2 separate regions of the Homo sapiens genome follow, and region 2 is linked to region 1. The links are contacts of gene promoters, found by promoter capture Hi-C in human tissues and cell types (Jung and others, 2019). All regions are on one chromosome and are shown on one strand. Each heading gives the region's core, a stretch centred on a gene start or on the middle of the fragment in contact. The rest is flanking DNA. Distances are from core to core; before and after follow the strand shown. Region 1 holds the start of ERI1 (exoribonuclease 1). Region 2 has its middle 69 kb from the start of CLDN23.

What was found. The method cuts DNA at HindIII sites, captures the fragments that hold promoters and counts their contacts. A contact is called where the count stands out against the background at its distance.
Region 2: a fragment that was not itself captured here is called in contact with the fragment with the promoter of ERI1 in region 1 in 2 of the 25 tissues and cell types used here (lymphoblastoid cells and mesenchymal stem cells).

The regions. Positions count from the first base shown.
Region 1 is chr8:9,001,218-9,004,618 of GRCh38, forward strand. ERI1 (exoribonuclease 1) reads left to right here and starts at 1,680. Exons shown (of 7, transcript NM_153332.4): 1 at 1,680-1,954. The coding sequence starts at 1,847. LOC105379227 (a long non-coding RNA gene) reads right to left here and starts at 1,525. Exons shown (of 3, transcript XR_002956680.2): 1 at 1,444-1,525. The HindIII fragment of the contact is 7,447 bases long and covers 1-3,401 here.
Region 2 is chr8:8,631,180-8,634,580 of GRCh38, forward strand. No RefSeq gene overlaps it. Among named protein-coding and RNA genes, the nearest start is that of CLDN23, 69 kb to the right of the region's middle. RefSeq lists an enhancer at 648-787. The HindIII fragment of the contact is 7,577 bases long and covers 1-3,401 here.

The DNA.
Region 1 (3,401 bases), core at 430-2,929:
AATCTACAGTAGTTTATGTTCTGGGTCCTGCAGTCTACGGTTATTATATCTCACTAAGGCATGACACTTTCGTAACCACCCAAAAGGTTCATCTTGCCTACTGCCTAGACAGAGTCGATTTATCAAGACAGGGGAATTGCAATAAAGAGCAATTCATGCAGAGCTGGCAGTGCAGGAGACCTGAGTTTTATTAATCAAATCAGTCTCCCTGAGCATTTGGGGATCAGAGTTTTTAAGGATAATTGGGTGGGTGAGAAGCCAGTGAGATGGGAGTGGTGACTGGTTGGGTAGGAGATGAAATCATAGGGAGTCGATGCTGTCCTCTTGCACTGAGTCAGTTCCTCCCGTGGGGGACACAAAATCAGATGAGCTAGTTTATCCAAGATCAGGTGAGTCAGTTTATCAATCTGGGAGGTGCCAGCTGATCCATCAAGTGCAGGGCCTGCAAAATATCTCAAGCACTGATCTTAGATTTTACAATAGTGATATTATCCCCAGGAGCAATTTGGAGAGGGTTAGAATCTTGTAGCCTTCAGCTGCATGAGTCCTAAATCATAATTTCTAATCTTTCGGCTAATTTACTAGTCCTACAAAAGCAGTCTAGTCTCAAGAAGAGGGTTTATTTTGAGAAAGGGCTATCACCTTTGTTTTAAACTATAAGCTATACACTAAGTTCCTCCCAGTGTTAGTTTGGCCTACGCCTAGGAATGAATAAGGATAGCCTGGAGGTTAAAAGCAAGATGGAGTTGGTTAGGTCTGATCTCTTTCACTGTCTCAATGATAATTTTGCAATGGCAGTTTCACATCTGAGGTTTCTATTGCGTGTTCCATGGTATTCAATAATCTCTTCACTCTGGTTGCTGGGAGCTCAAATGATTCCCAGTTCTGTGTGACCTCTCACCATTGTTTGGTGTACTGCTCCCCAGTAATTGTTCTTTCCTGGCCTTGTGGAGTTTCACGTTTTTTATTCAGTTAAAGATTCAAGGTACTCCTAAGCAGATTTCTGAAGCTCTTTTTCCATGTAATTCCCTCCTCTCCAGAATTCTGCCCTACAAATTCCAACCGACTTGGCCTACCCCAATTTCGTCAACTCCAATCTCTGTCTTTTCAACCCAGGAGATCCTAGGTTTCCATATGATTTCCTTTCATCGCACCACAGACTGGAAATCGCCTCTGGGCAAAAGGGCAGGATGATATACGGCTCCTTTTATTTCTTTTCTCTCAGGTAAAACAGTCCACAGCTGTCCGTTGTCCAATGTCTGAATAGGTGTCTCCTATATTTTGTTCCGTTTTCTAATTGTTTATAGTGGGACACTAAGTCCCGACCCATTTTCTTTTCTTGCCCAGAGTGGAAGTTTTAGGAAACTCCTTATGGAAAATGTGAATTGTTTTATTATTTTTTATGGTCGAAAACATCTTTCTCTATGATATCTTCCCACTCACCCTACTTTTTTCCTTCTCAGGAAACACTGACGGGAACACACGTGCCGGTGCTACCCTCCAGTGACTGGACTAGATCCTTGCGCAACTTCAACCCGCGCTAGCTCCGCCTACGGCCGGCCACGCCCCGTCTTCTCACCGGCGCGCCTCCCTCTTGTTCGTCCTCCCTCCCCCTGTGGACTGCGGCGCTGGCGTTCCGCGCACGCCGGCTCACTGCGCCTGCCCGGCGTGTGGACGCCACACGCTCCCGGAAGTGGGAGGTGGCCGCTGGAGTTTGTGTGGCCGCCGCCGCGGGAACGCGAGCCCGGTAATTTTTCAACGGAGAAAGGCGAGGCTTTCGGGCTCTGCAGAGTGAGAGTTAGCAAGTGTCCGGCTCCAGCAACTCTCCTCTGGCGTGACAGCCGGCATGGAGGATCCACAGAGTAAAGAGCCTGCCGGCGAGGCCGTGGCTCTCGCGCTGCTGGAGTCGCCGCGGCCGGAGGGCGGGGAGGAGCCGCCGCGTCCCAGTCCCGAGGTGAGGAGTCGACCCGCGCCTGGCTGTTGGCGCCAGCTGCCCCGTCCCCAAAGCGCCCTCGGCACCCCTTTCTTCTCAGGTGTCCCGCAGAAGGTGCAGCTGTGCGCCCTTGGACCCCAGCCTCTTCCTCGGTGCCCAGCTCCCTGGCTTTATCCTCGGGTGGGTGTCTTGGAGCCCCCTCAGGGCCGAATCACTCTCTGGGAGGGAGGAAATCGTCAAGACCAGTTCTGTCTACAGTGGGTTAACAGGTTCTAAGAGGGAGTTTTGCTTTAAACTTAATTCTGTGTTCACGGTTGCTGTTGTCACTCCATGTAGCCGTTATGGGTAGTTTGCAAGGCTTTATGTTTTTAAAATCTCACCATATACGCTAGGTATGTCACTTCATGCCTGTTTTTAAAAAAAGAAAAAATTTAAAAAGCACTCACCAGCATCCCTGTCTCTGTACCTGTTAAGTGGAGCTTCGTCTTAGCTGCTTTTGCTCATTAACTGGTGTCTCATATAACCATAGTATAAGATTGAATGAATCATTTTGACATCTCATCGGTTGAACTTAGTTACAGTGGCAAAGTTGTAGAACAGTCTTAAAACTTATTTAACGAATGTTAATTGTTGACTAGCGCTGCGGATTGTAAGTGATTGAATACTAAAATTGATCTTTTCCTAATAATAAACATGTTGAACACTTCGTAAAGCTTCATAAAGTGCGTATTTGCAAGAGGCCTCCTAACTCTTGCTCCTTCCGTCCACAGTCAGTTTCCATCTGGCAGCTAGAATGAGCTTTTCAATAACATGAATTTGGCTTATTCCCCTCCTGAGTCACTTCCATTTGCTGCTCTGCGGGGTCGGGTGCCTGCCTCCCTTGGTAATTGCATCTCACACAGTTTTTTCCCTTTTGTTCCCAGTGCCCCTCGCTGCCTTGTGTTCTTTGACATTGGAAAGAAGGTCTCGTTAAGGATCTCTGTATGTTCCTTTTGCCCTGTGTGCACTTCCTTTGGATCCTTGCAATTATCTTTCTCCTTCTAAGGTTGTTATTTCAAAGAGTACTTGCACATCCCTTCTCTTGTAAAGAACCACTCTTCCACCTGCCTCCCTCTTCAGCCTGAGATACGTTGTCAATCTCATCCTGTAAGTGGGTTTTAAAATAAATTTCGAAGTTTATTTTTAGTAAAAGAAGTGTGTTTGAATATGCTTCTTTATATTTGAAAGTCTTGACACTTTTACAGCTACTTAAGGCCTAGGTCTCTGTTCCAAATTGGCTTTAGTGACGGTAGTAATTGTTAAAAACTTACTGTTGCATGCTCTTTATAGTGATACTTTTTTTTTTTTTTTTTTTTTTTTTTACAAAAAGCCGGTCGTAGTTGCCCTCTCCCGTAGTCCCAGCTACTGGGGAGGCTCAGTGGGGAGGATCACCTGAGCCCATGGGTGGAGGCTGCAGTGAGCTGTGATC
Region 2 (3,401 bases), core at 284-2,783, 370 kb before region 1:
TCTCAAAAAAAGAAAGAAATGCAGAGGTTAATGATAGTATTATTTTATTCGTATATCCTATAATTTGAAATGAACTGTCCTTCATACACATAAACTCTTCTTCCACATTGGTGATGAATTTACAGTGAATGATTGATCATTCCTCTTTTACCTGGTCTTTCTTATAAAATTAATGGCATATACTAGGGGATCAATCAAAGGAGCTTCTAACCCCGTGTTTCTTCCTTCCCAGGGCCTACCTCATGCTGTCTCCTTACAAACACCAATTCAGTGTAGGACAAGGTAGGCTGGTTATGAAATAAAGTACAGTTAACCGTGTTATGTGGGAATTGAAATCATGACCTCATGTGCATAACACCTGCAATCAGCCAGTGAAGGCCTGATAAATCTTTGCATTTGTAAGAGTTAGCTAAACACTCAGCCTTTAGGAGTATGCTTTGGGAAGGGTTCCAAGAGTTGGACTGGTAAATATTCTACCTCTTTATTCACTGCCAAATTTCTAAGCTTTATACTCAGTTGTCAATTTTTTCTATTTTTAGTAGAGACGGGGTTTCACCGTGTTATCCAGGATAGTCTCGATCTCCTGACCTCATGATCTGCCCGCCTCAGCCTCCCAAAGTGCTGGGATTACAGGCGTGAGCCACCGCGCCCAGCCAAAAGTCTGTGTTTCTTTTGGGTAAAATTACTTTCAGAAAGTATTAGCTCCCTATAGTCAGCTTAAAGGATTCCTGGAATGACATGGCTAAACATGTATCAATTCCCTGGCTAATTTCCTTCAAGACAATACAAGATTATATCACACTGCTTGCTTCAGCCTGGAGTTCTTCCTATCTAAAAATAAGAATGTATCTTTCACATGAAAGAAACCCTAAGCTTTGAAAGAAACCTTGGTTTCACTTGTTACATGAAACTCCTGTGTGTGTACAATCTACTATATTTGTCCTAACTGTGTCATGGTTTTAGGTGCCTCTAGGCATACCAGAAAGACATCTTGCTTGAATTACCAAGGTTCTGTGCTTTTAGGAGACACTGGATTAGGAGCAAGGCACCTCAAACAGACACTTCCTTCTCTCTCTGGGCACCGTCAAAACCTCCAGATAACCTGGCAACTGCAAATGAATTTCAAGCATTTGACAAAGTGGGGTTGAACATCACTTCACTCTGGTTTGCCGCGGAAGCCTTAATATTAAGGTATACTTTTTTAAAACTGTATTTTTCTGTATTCTGTATATAGAAACATTTTCTATTTCTCCATGTTTCCTATATTTCTTTTTTTTCTAGCTAAAGAATTTATTTCAACATTTGCAAAATACTATATCACAATTATTTACCTTTCTTTGTTTTCTGTATTTCTATCTTTCCATTCAGTTAATTTGTACCCCATTTTGGAAAGCAAGTTGGTAAATCAAAAGTCTTAAAATGCTCATAGCTTTCCTCCCAGTAAATCTATATCTGGGAATCTTTCCTAAACAAAGCATCCTAATCATCTAAAACAATGTTGCAGTATTATAATATTGAAAAGGACCAAAATGATCAACCATAGGATGCTTAGTTTTTAAAAAGCATGATTATATTTACAAAGAGTTTTGAATAACATTGGCAAATGTCTATTATTATATTTGCTAAAAAATTGAATACAAAATTATATTCTCTATGTAAACACAGTGTACACACTATAAGCACAGCCCTGACACATAAAAAACGTAATGCAAATATTTGTTAAATTCACTCATTTGAATGAATCACAGCTATGTTGAAAAAAAAGAATCCTGCCTAGAAAACAAAATTTACACATTCATATGGTTATCTCTGGACGACAAAACTAAGCATGATTTTGTTTATTTTAAGATTAGTATAATTACATTAACATTTTCATAACATGAAAAATAAAATTATCTTGAAAAAGAAATATGTTTATGAGCATATTCTAGGGAGTTCAACATACAAGAGAAATTCTACTATATATTGAGGCTTCCATTGTTTGATTAACTTTTTAAAAACATGGTCTAGAAGCCTAAACTTTTTCACCTAAAGCTGCATTTCAAATACTAGTTGAGATATGGAAATAAGACGCCTCACAACTTAGTTCTGAAATTATGTATCCTCATAATCATAGCTACCCTTTATTGATACCTAATTTACATCAGATGCCAAGATAAATGATATACCATTGAATTTAATTTTATTTTTATTTCATTCATTCATTTAATACATTTTGAAAGCAGCTGCTAGGTACAAGACACTTAGTATAAAGGTAGCAAAAAGTTTTTGCCATGAAGGAAGTTATTAGATTGGTGCAAAAGTAATTGTGGCCTTTGCCATTAAAAGTAATTGCAAAAACTGCAATTACTTTAGTGCTAACCCAGTATAAGGAGACCTGACCTTAATTAAATGAGGACACTAGTGTTTTGGATGTTGACCCACCCAAAACAATACTGTTACTAGAGCGTAAAAGAGGGACGATCACATCCAGGTGAGGGTCATAGGAAGGGCTAATGATTGAGCAGAAACTGTAGGATTAAAGCAAAGGCCCCTGGCCCTGGCCCACCAGGCTAGAGGGAGAAAGTGCAAGACCGGGACCCAGGCCAAGGCCACACACAAGGCCTGGCTCCTCTTCCGGAGACTGCTGGTCAGAAAATAATTTTCCCCAGGTGCCTGAAGTCTCGTAACGCAGATACTCTAGACATTTTCCGTTTTCTGATTTTATATATATATATATATACATACACACACAAACAAATATTTAAAATGGGCATGTGAAAATATGTGTTTGTGTATTTTCACATACCCATTTCATATATATATACATATATGAAATATATATTTCATGTATACATATATGTATATATGAATATATATCATGTATCATATATATCATATATACACATATATATGAAATGGGTATACATATATGAAATATATATTTCAAGTATACATATATGTATATATGAATATATATCATATATCATATATAATATCATCTATACACATATATATGAAATGGGTATGTGAAGATACACAAACATATATTTTCACATGCCCATTTTACTAAAAATATGGGGTTTTTTTTTTTACAATGTTTAATTCTATTCTAGTAATCCTTAAATTTTGATGTGTATTCTTGAATGGTTAAAAACATGACTTTTTTAAAAATAAAAATGATCTGTAGAAACCTGTTTCCATAATGATAGAAATCTTGACTTTCCGTCTTGCTGACAGATCCCAGTTAGAAATTTAAACCAAATTGTTTCCATCAATTAGTAGGCTCGGAGAGAAAGTGTGGAGGACAGGAGTTTCTGCAAATTTATCAGAATTTTAGAGGAAAATGAACAGTTGTACCTTCCTGAGATGTGAGTTTATATTGACCACCAGATTTCTCTAGCACTGATCATAGATTCGAA